Linked DNA regions of Homo sapiens: region 1 is linked to region 2. The links are contacts of gene promoters, found by promoter capture Hi-C in blood cells and fetal thymus (Javierre and others, 2016). All regions are on one chromosome and are shown on one strand. The core of a region is centred on a gene start or on the middle of the fragment in contact, and the rest is flanking DNA. Distances in the headings are between cores, read along the strand shown.

The links. Contacts are between HindIII fragments. The CHiCAGO score rates a contact against its expected background, and 5 or more counts as called.
Region 1: a fragment that was not itself captured here is called in contact with the fragment with the promoter of SOX18 in region 2 in 1 of 17 cell types (total CD8 T cells); the score reaches 5.1 in total CD8 T cells.

What each region holds. Positions count from the first base shown.
Region 1 is chr20:63,578,252-63,585,333 of GRCh38, reverse strand. No RefSeq gene overlaps it. Among named protein-coding and RNA genes, the nearest start is that of HELZ2, 7.6 kb to the right of the region's middle. RefSeq lists enhancers at 1,740-2,240, 2,241-2,741, 4,025-4,204. The HindIII fragment of the contact is 4,364 bases long and covers 1-4,128 here.
Region 2 is chr20:64,045,760-64,052,191 of GRCh38, reverse strand. SOX18 (SRY-box transcription factor 18) reads left to right here and starts at 2,553. Exons shown (of 2, transcript NM_018419.3): 1 at 2,553-3,033; 2 at 3,230-4,610. The coding sequence starts at 2,676. The coding sequence ends at 4,026. RefSeq lists promoters at 2,413-2,673, 1,776-2,673, 1,568-2,676, enhancers at 2,001-2,682, 5,754-6,432 and a silencer at 2,814-2,863. The HindIII fragment of the contact is 12,409 bases long and covers 1-6,432 here.

The sequences.
Region 1 (7,082 bases), core at 697-3,196, 470 kb after region 2:
ACCTGCAATGACTGAGGTTCCTGTTCCTCTACGTCCTCACCTGCAATGACTGAGGTTCCTGCTCCACGTCCTCACCTGCAATGACTGAGGTTCCTGCTCCACGTCCTCACCTGCAATGACTGAGGTTCCTGCTCCACGTCCTCACCTGCAATGACTGAGGTTCCTGCTCCACGTCCTCACCTGCAATGACTGAGGTTCCTGTTCCACGTCCTCACCAGCATTTGGCGTTGTCAGCGTTTTGGGTTTGGGACATTCTTTATTTTTATTTTTATTTTTTTCAAGATTGAGTCTCACTCTGCCGCCCAGGCTAGAGTGCAGTGGCACCATCTCCGCTCACTGCAACTTCCAGTCCCCGGGTTCAAGTGATTCTCCTGCCTCATCCTCCCAAGTAGCTGGGATTACGGTCGCATGCCACCACGCATGGCTAATTTTTGTATTTTTAGTAGAGACTGGATTTCGCCATGTGGCCAGGCTGGTCTTGAACTTCTGACCACAGGTGGTCCACCTGCCTCGGCCTCCCAAAGTGCTGGGATTACAGATGTGAGCCACCACGCCTCGCCCGGCTAATTTTTTTAAAAAGTGTTCATGGAGGCCGGTTGTGGTGGCTCACGCCTGTAATCCCAGCACTTTAGGAGGCTGAGGCGGGCGGATCACGAGGTCAGATCGAGACCATCCTGGCTAACACGGTGAAACCCCATCTCTACTAAAAATACAAAAAATTAGCCAGGCGTGGTTGCAGGCGCCTGTGGTCCCAGCTGCTCAGGAGGCTGAGGCAGGAGAATGGTGTGAAACCGGGGAGGCAGAGATTGCAGTGAGCCGAGATTACGCCACCGCACTCCAGCCTGGGCGACAGAGCGAGACTCCTTCTAAAAAAAAAAAAAAAATTCGTGGAGACAGGGTCTCACTCTGTTGCCCAGGCTGGTCTCGAACTCCTGGACTCAACGCAATCCTCCAGCCTCGGCCTCCCAAAGCATTGGGATTACAGGCGTGAGCCACTGCGCCTGGCCCTGGCACATTCTCACAGGTGTATGATGGTAACTCACTGTTTGGGTTTGCAGATTTCCTAATGATGTGTGATGGGAAGCACCCTTTCACAAGCTGCTGCTTTGCCTTCTCTCTGTCTCTGGTGAGGTGACTCTTCAGATCTTTTGTCTGTTTAAAAAATCGGGTTGTTCATTATTGTTGAGTTTTAAGAGTTCTTTTCATATTTTGGATAATGATCCCTTATTAGACATGTTTGTTTCTGTTTTTGAGACAGTCTTGCTCTTGTCACCCAGGCTGGAGTACAGTGGTGCGACCTCTGCTCAGTGCAACCTCTTGTTTCCCAGGTTCAAGCGATTCTCCTTCCTCAGTCCCCCGAGTAGCTGGGATTAAAGGCTTGAGCCACCATGCCTGGCTAAGTTTTTGTATTTTTAGTAGAGATGGGGTTTTGCCATGTTGCCCAGGCTGGCCTTGAACTCCTGAGCTCAGGCAATCTGCCTGCCTTGGCCTCCCAAAGTGCTGGGATTACAGGCATGAGCCACCGTGCCCGGCCTATTTTATTTATTTATTTTTGAGACGGAGTCTTGCTCTGTCATCCAGGCTGGAGTGCAGTGGCGCGATCTCAGCTCACTGCAACCTCTGCCTCCTGGGTTCAAGCAATTCTCCTGCCTCAACCTCCCGAGTAGAGTAGCTGGGACTACAGGCACGCACCACCATGTCTGGCTAATTTTTGTATTTTTAGTAGAGATGGGGTTTCACCATGTTGGCCAGGCTGGTCTTGAACTCCTGCCCTCAAGTGATCCGCCCACCTCAGCCTCTCAAAGTGCTGGGATGACAGGCCACTGCGCCCAGCCTTGGATGAGTTTTAAGCAATACAGACACATGTACCTGCTGCCTGCACCAGGCAGAGGACACTCCCCTTGTTCCCTTCTCTAGTCGGGCCTGTCCTCACAGTCACTGACCTGGTTTTTAGAATTCGTCTGTTCCTGAGCTTCATAGAAACGGAACCGCACATTTAATACTCGTCTGTGTTTGGCCTCTTTCACTGAACTGTTTCTGAGATTCCTCCATGCTTCTGTGTGGGTCGGACGTGTTCGGTTTTGGTTTTGTCTGAGTAGTGTTGTGTCGTACAGACGTTCCACGGTTTGTTTATTCAGCCGCCTGGTGATACGCATTGGAGCTGTTTTCAGTCTGGGGCTGCTGGGAATGGGGCTGCTGTGAACCGGCGGGTGTCTCTGTGTGGGCGTCAGCACGCTGGCCCCAGCAGGAGGGGCTCCCTGGCCCAGGCGTTGTGAAGAATGAAGATCCTTTTTTCATTTCTCTTGGGTAGATTTGCAGGAGTCGAACTGCTGGATCCTGAGACAGATGTTCATTTAACTGTATCGGAAATGACCGAGCTGTTTTCCAAGGTGGCTGTGCCGTCTTGTATCCCCACCAGCACCAACGGGAGCGGTGGCTGCTCCGCACCCTCCGCGGCACGAGCCGTCCTCACTCTGGACGCAGTCGGTCTGCCCGTGTGAGGTGGTTTCTCGCTGGGTCCCATTTGCGTGTCCCAGTGACTGGATGGTAAGCACCTTCTCACGTGCTTTTGGTCATTTGTATATGTTCTTGTGTGGAGTGTCTGTTCAAATATTTTGTTTGTTTTTAAAAACTGGACTTTTGAGTTTTGAGATTAAAAAAAATCTGCCTTCTAGGAGTGGTGGCTCACCCCTGTAGTCCCAACACTTTGGGAGGCCGAGGCAGGAGGATCACTTGAGGCCAGGAGTTCAAGATCAGCCTGGGCAACATAGTGAGACCCCATCTCTACAAAAAATTTTAAAATTAGCTGAGGGTGTTGGTGCATGCCTGGAGTCCCAGCTACTTGGGACGCTGAGGTCGGAGGATTGTCTGAGCCCGGAGTTCAAGGCTGCAGTGAGCTGTGATCACACCTCTGCGCTCCAGCCTGGGCAATAGAGCAAGACCGTCTCAAAGCATAATAATAATAACAAAGATAAAAACATTTTCAGTTTGCATATAGTTCATCAGATATGTGTATTTTGAATATTTTTGTCTCAACTAATAGCTTGACTTTTCATTTTTCTCACTGGTACAGACATTTTTTACTTATATAACCTTGTTTATCAATTTTTTTCTCTTATATTTCTACCTTTTATGTCTTTTTAAAGAAATATATGCCGGCTGGGTGCGGTAGCTCACGCCTGTAGTCCCAGCACTTTGGGAGGCCTAGGCGGGTGGATCACGAGGTCAGGGTCAGGAGACCAAGACCATCCTGGCTAACATGGTGAAACCCCGTCTCTACTAAAAATACAAAAAATCAGCTGGGCGTGGTGGTGGGCGCCTGTAGTCCCAGCTACTCGGGAGGCTGAGGCAGGAGAATGGCATCAACCCGGGAGGCAGAGCTTGCAGTGAGCCAAAATCACGCCACTGCACTCCAGCCTGGGCGACAGAGCAAGACTGTCTCAAAAAAAAAAAAAAGAAAAGAAAAGAAAAAAATATATGCCTATCCCAAGGTTGTGAAGATTTCTCCTGTTTTCTTCTAGAAGCGTTACAGTTTAGCTTTGATGCTTAGATGTTCCATCTTGAATTAAATTTTGTGTGCAATGCGAGGTGGGGCTGAGCTTCGTTTTTCCCGAAACTTTACTCCGTGTTCCAGCTGCCACTTGTTGAAGACTGTCCTTTCCCCGCCTCAGGCCCTTCGGGGACCAACAGACCGCAGACCTGGGTCTGACCCAGGCTCCCTTCTGTCCTGTCTTGTCTCTCCCGACATCTGCAGTAACGTTCTGGACTTGAACTTCTGGGCGTCAGGAGCAAGCCACATTCCTGTATGTCCAGGGAGAAGAGGGGAGACCGGAAGGCTGGGTGGAAAGGCCCAGGTTTTGGCTCCCTCCTCCAGGGCAGCCAGGCTGGGCACAGCTGCCCCACGGGGCGCACAGGCACCTGGCTCTGTGTCAACCAGATGCCCAGAGCAGCCCCAGGGCAGGCCCACACCCACTCCAGACCCCAACATCTCCAGCCCCAGCAGGAGTGTGGCCCCTCCCCCTGTCATCCCGGAGAGGCGGCCACATGGCAGAGGGACACTGGGGGCCAGTGAGGACTAGGAAGGTCCCTGCCAGGAGACCTCAGGGATATCTGATCAAGCCTCAAGCTTTGGGGGTGCTGTGGGGGCAAGCAGAGAAAGGCACAGCCCCTGGCCAGGCTCTCTGTTGCCCCTGGGAGGCCTTTTAGATCCTGCAACACCTACCCCATGCCTCCTGCTCAGGGCCTGGCCTGAGGGCTCCAGCAGGCTTCAGTGTGGGGGAGAGGTGAGCAGGGGCTGAGAAGGTGGCTCATCACCTCTAATGATGTCAGAAAACTAGGCTGTTTCTCCTGCACTCTCACAGCACAGCTCACTGCTGACACCAGGTGGGGGTTCTGTTCCAACAACAGATTAGTCAGTTTTGCAGCCGACGCCGGCTGGGCGTGCTCCAGTTTAATTCCGATACCATCTACCTGAAGACACCATCTACCTAGAGACGTCTACTTGGAGCCATTGTCTGCTGCCCTGTGCCGTCCGCTATCACCCGAACCCTGCGGGAAAACCCACACACCCTCCCCAGCATCACAGTGCAGGTGGAGGTCCCCAGGGCTTAGGGCCAGGCCTCAGTTTACCTGTGACTGTGGGCCATGTGCTCTCGGGCAGGAACTGACGGCCTCTGGGTATAACTCACTTAAGCAGGTCTTTAACACCCAGTTCCCATCTTTCCAGAGACCCTCCCGGGCGCCCTCCCACCAGCCAAAAGCTCACACCTTGAGTGGAGGAGGTGATAGGGTCTGCAGTGGGAGGGATTCCAGATCAACCTGGAGACATTGTCCACCCATAGACACCATCATCTACCTGGAGACATTGTTGTCAACCTGGAGACACCATCAATTCATAGACATTGTTGTCAACCTGGAGACATTATTGTTAACCTGGAGACACCATCAATTCATAGACATTGTTGTCAACCTGGAGACACCATCAATTTATAGACATTGTTGTTAACCTGGAGACATTGTTGTCAACCTGGAGACACCATCAATTCATAGACGTTGTTGTCTACCTGGAGACATTATTGTTAACCTGGAGACACCATCTATTCATAGGCATTGTTGTCAACCTGGAGACACCGTCTATTCATAGACATTGTTGTTAACCTGGAAACATTGTTGTCAACCTGGAGACACCATCAATTCATAGACATTGTTGTCTACCTGGAGACACCGTCTTTTCATAGACATTGTTGTTAACCTGGAGACATTGTTGTCTACCTGGAGACACTGTTGTCAACCTGGAGACACCATCAATTCATAGACATTGTTGTCAACCTGGAGACACCATCAATTCATAGACATTGTTGTCTACCTGGAGACATTGTTGTTAACCTGGAGACATTGTTGTTAACCTGGAGACACCGTCAATTCATAGACGTTGTTGTCTACCTGGAGACACCATCTAGCTGGAGACGCCATCTGTCCTTAGACATCCTCATCTACCTGGAGATGTCCACACAAGGCTGCTGCCCACTCCCCATGCCAATCTCAAGCCCCGGGTGCTTCAGACCAATTGGCTATAAATTGAGGTTCCTAACCCCCATATTTGGGTCAGATTAATTTCCTAGAGCAGCTCACAGAACTCAGGGAAACATGTTTACCCATTTATTATAAAGGACGTTACAAAGGACGCAGATGAAGAGATGCGTAAGGGGAGGGGCGCAGAGCTTTCACCCCACAAGGGCACCCCGTCCAGGAACCTCCACGGCTCTCTGAGCCCTGTCCTTTTGCGACTTCATGGAGGCTTCATTACCCAGGCATGATTGATTACGTCACTGGCCACTGGTGAGGACCGCCTTCAGCCGCCTCTCCCCTCCCCTGCCTGGAGGTTGGGGCAAGGCTGCAAGTACCACCCTCTACTCCTGCTGAGGCCTTTCTGAGGACCAGCCCCATCCTGAGGCTGCCTCCAGGCTGCCAGCCTTCGGTCAATATCAGCACAAAAAGGCACTTGCCACTTTGGCTACTCCAGGGATTTTAGGGGTTTTTGCCAGGAAACGGGACGAGACCAAATATGTTAATGTATATTTCACAATGTCACACGCACATGGCTGTGTGTGCAGAGGCCAGGCAGGGAGAGAGGACAGAGCAGCTGGGAGGCCCCGGGGGGCGTAGACCCATCCTGGGACTAAACCCCCATCAGATCCTTCTGGCACCCCTGCAAGGAGAAGGTGTGGTCCCCCTGACTTTCTCCCCAGGGGCTCATCTCGAAGGAGGCCTCCCGGCTGCACGGCTCCCACAAGGCCAAGAGGAGGAGATCTGAAATCGGCTCCACTCCCTCCCACTGCAGACCCTATCACCTCCTCCACTAGGGGTGTGAGCTTTTGGCTGGTGGGAGGGCGCCCGGGAGGGTCTCTGGAAAGATGGGAACCGGGTGTTAAAGACCTGCTTAAGCGAGTTATACCCAGAGGCCGTCAGTTCCTGCCCGAGAGCACATGGCCCACAGTCACAGGTAAACTGAGGCCTGGCCCTAAGCCCTGGGGACCTCCACCTGCTTCGTGACGCTGGGGACAGTGTGTACGTTTTCCTGCAGGGTTCAGGTGATGGCAGACGGCAGAGGGCAGCAGACGGCAGGCTGGCACTGGGGGGCCATGGAACCCACTGGCAGGGACGCTGGGTGAGGAGGACCTAGGGACCGGGATGAGACAAGCTGAGGGTGTTGGGCAGACATTTCTTACTTTGTATTTTGATATAATAATTTAAACAAACGTACACAAATGTTGCAAAAATAGAACAAAGGACTCCCTGTGCTCTATGCGGACTCACCAGTCGCTTTGTTCTGGCCCATTTGCCGGTTCTGTAGAAGCCTGTAGTTCCAGGCAATTGAGACTAAGACACGATACCCCTTCACCTTTCAGATACGATACCCCTTCACCCTTCACCCTTCACCCTTTACCCCATCACTTCAAGGTGTGTTTCCTCAGAACGTGGAAGCTGTCTGTTACAAAGTCAGGAAGCTGACGTGGATACAATAATATTACTAATACTCAGCCCGTGTGAGCGTGTTGTTGGCCGTGTGCTGTGTGTACGTG
Region 2 (6,432 bases), core at 1,304-3,803:
TGGAGAATGCTGGGGCCCAAGCTCAGTGGCCAGAGAAGCCTTGGGGACCCTCCAAACTTCACGGAGCAGGACCCCTGGTCCTGGACCTATTATGGGTCCTCATCTCTTCCTGGGAACGTCCAGCTTGCCTGGCTCTCAAGGCCCTGGGCAGCCTCCAGCACTAGAGTCCCCCTCACCCCACACCCAGGCAGACAGACAGACACAGGCCACACACAGATGCACAGACACACATCGGATGCCCCTCCCTCAGCACAGCTGGCCACACCCACACCATCCCCTCTACAGCCCTGGCAAGTCCCCCCAGCCCTGCGGCTCCAGATCACGCCACCCTGGCTGTGGTCCCTACCCCCACTTTGTCCCATCTGGACACTGGGCCAGGGCTGCCAGCCTCCTCCCTGCCACGCAGAGGGAGAGGAGCACCTCAGGAGGCTCCCCGCCCAGCCCCGACTCACAGGACATGACAGCCGGACACCTGAGTCCACAGCCCAGCCAAGAGGGTGGGTCACTGGCTGGCGCCAGGCAAGGCGGCTGCTGGTGGGTGTTGTGGGGGACGTGGAGGCGATGAGGTCATGCCGGACACTGCCTGCCACTATGTTTAGAGCAGCTCCAGTGACTCTGGGCTCTCGGGGGTGGCAGAGGACCAAGCAGGGCCCCCAGGGAACTGCAAATCCTTCCCCACGTGTGAGGGCTACTGCAGAGGACCCCGAGGACCTCTTTCCCAGGCCGCAGTGACCAGCCACTGCCCAGGCTGAGCCAGGCCCTGGTGACCCCTGACTGCAACCCTAAGGTTGTGAGTAGAGAGAGCTTCCGCCAAGTGGTAGCCCTTTGGGGTCTTCGCACGGCTCCCCACCCCCCCTGCACCCTCCTGCCAGCTGCCCAGGAGGCCCACCCACACTGAGACTCGGCCAAGGGTCCAGCCACCCATACTGAGATTAAAGGAGGACTAGCAGCATCCGGCAGAGGCCTGTGAGCCCCTCCATCCCTGTGGCCACAACCCTGCCTGCCTCCCCAGAAAAGCCAGGGGCCGCACCTCCTGGTGCCCCACGGGCCCCCCATTAGCCAGCACTGGCTCAGTGTCTGTGAACGAGGTGCTAGGCCCGTGGGGCAAACTGGAGGGACGGGAGATCTGGAGACCAGACTGGGAGACCCAGCCCCGTATGCTGGGACGATGGGCGTCGAGACAGACTGTGATGTGGGGCTTTGGGGAGGGCTGGACACCGACCGCGACAGCCCTCGGTGGGAGTGCCCCTGTGGGGGTGCTGGCCTCAGGGCAGGAGTGCCCCTGGGGACAGTTCAGGAACAGCCTCTAAGGGGCACTGCAAGGCCCACGTGGGGCCCACCCCATTCATAACACAGGCTGGATGTGGCCTAGCGAGGCTGGCAGGGACAGAGAACCAAGAGCTTCTGGCCACACAGGCTCAGGGTCACAAGACCTGTGGCCTCTACCCATGGGGCTCCCGGCATAGTGTGGCGGGGGGAGCTGGGGAGCCTCCAGGCTATGAGGAGATGTGCCGCGAGGTGGCGAGATTCTGACCCTGCCTGGAGGGCTGCTGGGGACACCCAACCCTTCTCCAGTAGAACCATGCGTGGCAGTGGGAGGGGAGGACCTCCAGAGGGAGACCCTCAGCTCTGGAGCCCAGATCCCCTCCTGATGGAGTAGGAAGGGGACAGTGAAAATTCAGGAAGCTGGACGCTCCTCCGGAACCCGCCCCCGCCCAGGTCAGAGGGTCCAGGGAGGGGCCAGTGGGAAGGACCCAGGTAGGCCCTGCCTCTTGCTGCAGCGGTGGCCTGGGCTGGGCAGGGGAGCCAGCAAGCCACTGAGGGTCCCAGCCCCTTCCCCAAGGGCCCTTGGGGGGCAGGGAGGACGCCACAGCCTCTGCGTCCCTGCTCCCCCTTCTCTTTGTGGGCTCCGTCCAGGGCCTCTGCTCTCTCCCTCCCTGTGTCAGCTTTGCCTTGTGCCAGAGTTGGTTTGGGAGTGAGGACAGAAGACCATCTTGTCCCATAAAGGCACTCAAAGTCCCTGGTGCTGACGGTTACACATGGGTGTAGAGTTTCCAGCATGGGCGCCCCTGGGGACTCAGAGCGCCTCCCCAAAGACGGGGCCTTTTCTGAAGGCGCTGCACTCCAGGAAGGACTTACCGGCTGTTGGGAAGGCAGCCTCCCCAGAACTTGGTGTGAAAAAGGGCCCTCTCCTCCCCATGGAGCCTCCCAGCGGGGGGCGGGGAACGGCAACCAGCGGGACACTGCCGCCCTCCCCCAGTTACTGCCCGGGGGTCCGACTCCGTGGGTGGGTGGCAGCTCGCCTCCGAAAGTCTGGCAGCACCGGCCCTCATCAGCAGCCCTTTCTTTCCCACCCGGGGGGTCTCTCCTTCTGAGAGGTCGCGGGGGAGGTGGGGGGGCTGTGCGCGGGGGAGGCCTCAGCGGAATCCCGCCCGGCCTGAGAAGAAAGGGAGCCCCCGGGGAGGAGGCGGCCCCGACCCGCCCCCGCCCGCCCGCCCCGCCGCCGATTGGCCCTGAGCCGCTATATCTGGGCGCCCGCCCGGCCCGAGGCCACCGCCGTCCCCACCGCCATCCGCCCTCCCGGCCTGGCCTGCCCTTGCGCCCGGCTCCCCAGTGCCCGCCGCCCGCCCGCCGCGCTCCCGCGCTCCGTTCCGCCCAGGCCGCGCCCAGCTGGAATGCAGAGATCGCCGCCCGGCTACGGCGCACAGGACGACCCGCCCGCCCGCCGCGACTGTGCATGGGCCCCGGGACACGGGGCCGCCGCTGACACGCGCGGCCTCGCCGCCGGCCCCGCCGCCCTCGCCGCGCCCGCCGCGCCCGCCTCGCCGCCCAGCCCGCAGCGCAGTCCCCCGCGCAGCCCCGAGCCGGGGCGCTATGGCCTCAGCCCGGCCGGCCGCGGGGAACGCCAGGCGGCAGACGAGTCGCGCATCCGGCGGCCCATGAACGCCTTCATGGTGTGGGCAAAGGACGAGCGCAAGCGGCTGGCTCAGCAGAACCCGGACCTGCACAACGCGGTGCTCAGCAAGATGCTGGGTGAGCGGCGGGAGGGCGGCAGAGAAGGGGGAGAGGGCGGGGGGGGCTCGGGCCGGGGTGGGGCGGGGGGGGCAGGGGTCCCGGGCCGCGGGGTGCGGGGGCTGCGCCAAACCCTCGCGGGGCGTCCCGGGCGCACGGAGGGCTCGGCGCCCACCCGCCCGACGGCGTTCCACTCACTGGCGCCCACGGCCCGCAGGCAAAGCGTGGAAGGAGCTGAACGCGGCGGAGAAGCGGCCCTTCGTGGAGGAAGCCGAACGGCTGCGCGTGCAGCACTTGCGCGACCACCCCAACTACAAGTACCGGCCGCGCCGCAAGAAGCAGGCGCGCAAGGCCCGGCGGCTGGAGCCCGGCCTCCTGCTCCCGGGATTAGCGCCCCCGCAGCCACCGCCCGAGCCTTTCCCCGCGGCGTCTGGCTCGGCTCGCGCCTTCCGCGAGCTGCCCCCGCTGGGCGCCGAGTTCGACGGCCTGGGGCTGCCCACGCCCGAGCGCTCGCCTCTGGACGGCCTGGAGCCCGGCGAGGCTGCCTTCTTCCCACCGCCCGCGGCGCCCGAGGACTGCGCGCTGCGGCCCTTCCGCGCGCCCTACGCGCCCACCGAGTTGTCGCGGGACCCCGGCGGTTGCTACGGGGCTCCCCTGGCGGAGGCGCTCAGGACCGCGCCCCCCGCGGCGCCGCTCGCTGGCCTGTACTACGGCACCCTGGGCACGCCCGGCCCGTACCCCGGCCCGCTGTCGCCGCCGCCCGAGGCCCCGCCGCTGGAGAGCGCCGAGCCGCTGGGGCCCGCCGCCGATCTGTGGGCCGACGTGGACCTCACCGAGTTCGACCAGTACCTCAACTGCAGCCGGACTCGGCCCGACGCCCCCGGGCTCCCGTACCACGTGGCACTGGCCAAACTGGGCCCGCGCGCCATGTCCTGCCCAGAGGAGAGCAGCCTGATCTCCGCGCTGTCGGACGCCAGCAGCGCGGTCTATTACAGCGCGTGCATCTCCGGCTAGGCCGCCGGCGCCGCCCGGGTCCCTGCAGCGCTTCCTCCCGCAGCCCCCGCGACCGATCCGACCGCGTCGCTGCCGCTCTGCTCTCTCATACGCGTGTATGTTTGGTTCCATGTCACAGCCCCCTAGGAGCCAGTGATGCTCGGCCTTGCGCCCGTTCCACCTCCCAGGCCACCCTTCCTGGGCTTCTGGGCCACCTGCCCTCGGGGGGCCCCTGCGAGGGTGCCTGGAGTTCCCACGTGTCCCGGGGCTTTTCCAGGAAGCCCGAGCCCAGGACCTGTTGGCAGAGTTGCCAGGGTTACATTTTTGAAGCACCTGCTCCTTTTCTTGCAGTGTATTTTCTACAACCAGATTGTATTAATATTTTTTACTTTGCCCTTTTAAAAAATATACCTAATACAATATATTTAATTTTTAATTAAACTCTTAAACTTTTCTTCCAAGAAGTTTCAGTGATCAGAAGCGTCACTGTGGCAAAGACTTTTGCAATGTGAGGAATACAGATGTTTGCTTTCTATAAAGGAGGAGCCTGGAGCTGGGTCCCCGGACGGAGAGGCCACAATAAATCCTCGGGCCTTTCCTCTGCACACTGACATCTGTGGTGTTTGCAGGGAGGGAAAAGCAGTTCCCCAAATAGCCCTGGACGCCCCTTCCCTCCGAATCGCCCCCAGGGAGCCTGACTCCTAGCTTGAACCTCATAGCACTCCTTCATCCTTCCGTGACACATCCCAGAGAGCGTGGGTAGCAGGCATGGGTCCACACTCCCCCCCAGCCCTCCACTCCCCTCCTGTCCCACCCCCAGGTTAACTCAAGCCTATCGGAGGTCAGACTATACCAGCAATCCTGTCACACCCCCGCTAGGGTTTCATCGCCCTTGCCTCCACCTTAAAACTTCCATGCCCAAGGACTGCCCAGTACGGCCCCCTTTCCTGAGGGAGGCTGGCAGGTTGGCAGCCCACATGCAGACACAGACTCCAGGGTCTCCGTCAGCTGTTCTAACTCACCCCAGGGAGGACAGCACCATGCTACACCCACAGCGCTCCCCCCACCCGGGTGACCTGTCCAGCTCTGCCCAGAGACAGGTCCGATGGCCAAGGCAGGAGAGCACAGGCTTCACATCCCAAGACCCCCCAACTCTGGAGTCGTATCTCACTAGCCCCCAGGAGGACTGGACACCCTCTTTCTTTTTCTTTCTCTCTCTTTTTTTTTTTTGAGACGGAGTCTCGCTGTGTCACCCAGGCTGGAGTGCAGTGGAGCAATCTCGGTTCACAGCAAGCTCCACCTGCTGGGTTCACACCATTCTGCTCAGCCTCCTGAGTAGCTAGGACTACAGGCGCCCACCACCACACGTGGCTAATTTGTATTTTTAGTAGAGACGGGGTTTCACCGTGTTAGCCAGGATGGTCTCGATCTCCTGACCTCGTGATCCGCCCGCCTCGGCCTCCCAAAGTGCTGGGATTACAGGTGTGAGCCCAGCGCCCGGCCTGGACACCGTCTTTCCATGCTGACCTCTTGGTCCTCTCGACCTCAAACCCACGTGTTCAGGGAAGTTTGGAGTAATCACCCCCAAAAGTGAACACCCAGACACAGACACACTCCCTAGGGCCTGGCAGGTATAAGCCAAGAGGAGGGGCATGCACCTCCCTCCTGGGGGAAGGGCATATCCTGCCCCAGCACCCCCTCTGCATAGGTGGGGAGTCGGTGGGGAGAGCTGAACCTTTACTGCCCTGGTGTGGAAACTCACTCGCGGCTCAGCCTCCCAGGTACGGGGGAGCACACGCCTCTGAGAGTGTGTCTGTGGTTCTGCATGCGTGTGAATGAGACTCCCAGTGTGGCCCTTCATGCAGGTGACAGTGTGTGTGTGGCATATGGATGTGCAGCAAGCCTGGGGCGGGATGGACATGTGCCTGCTACCTGAGTGTGTGTGTGGAGGGGGTGGGATGGGGCTATTTTACAGGTACCCTCCCCTCAAGCAGGGCATGTCACCTCTGTGTTAATCAGCATGAGTGCCACCCCTCAGATGGGCCCCCAGTAGGGGCTGCACCTGGGGCCCCTTCCCCACCCCATTGGCAGCAGAGCACACAGAACTCAAAGACAAAGGAACAGAGACACGCAGAGGGGACAGACACAGACACGCTGAAGAGGGCAGGAGACAGGCTCAGAGGTAGACAGAGATGCACCAGGCAGGCAGACACAGCCCACAGGACACCGAGGTCATCGCCCATGTCTTCCAAGCAGTCTGCCAGCACACAGCAGGGAGGCAGAGACGGTGAGACCCAAAGGGACACAAGCCACATCTGTCTTTCGGTGGAGGCGGGGGGAGGGGGGTCTCTGAGGCACCAACATGGACTCTTCCTGGGATCATACCATGAGATAAATGCTCACACCTGTGAGAATGCAAGCCACACC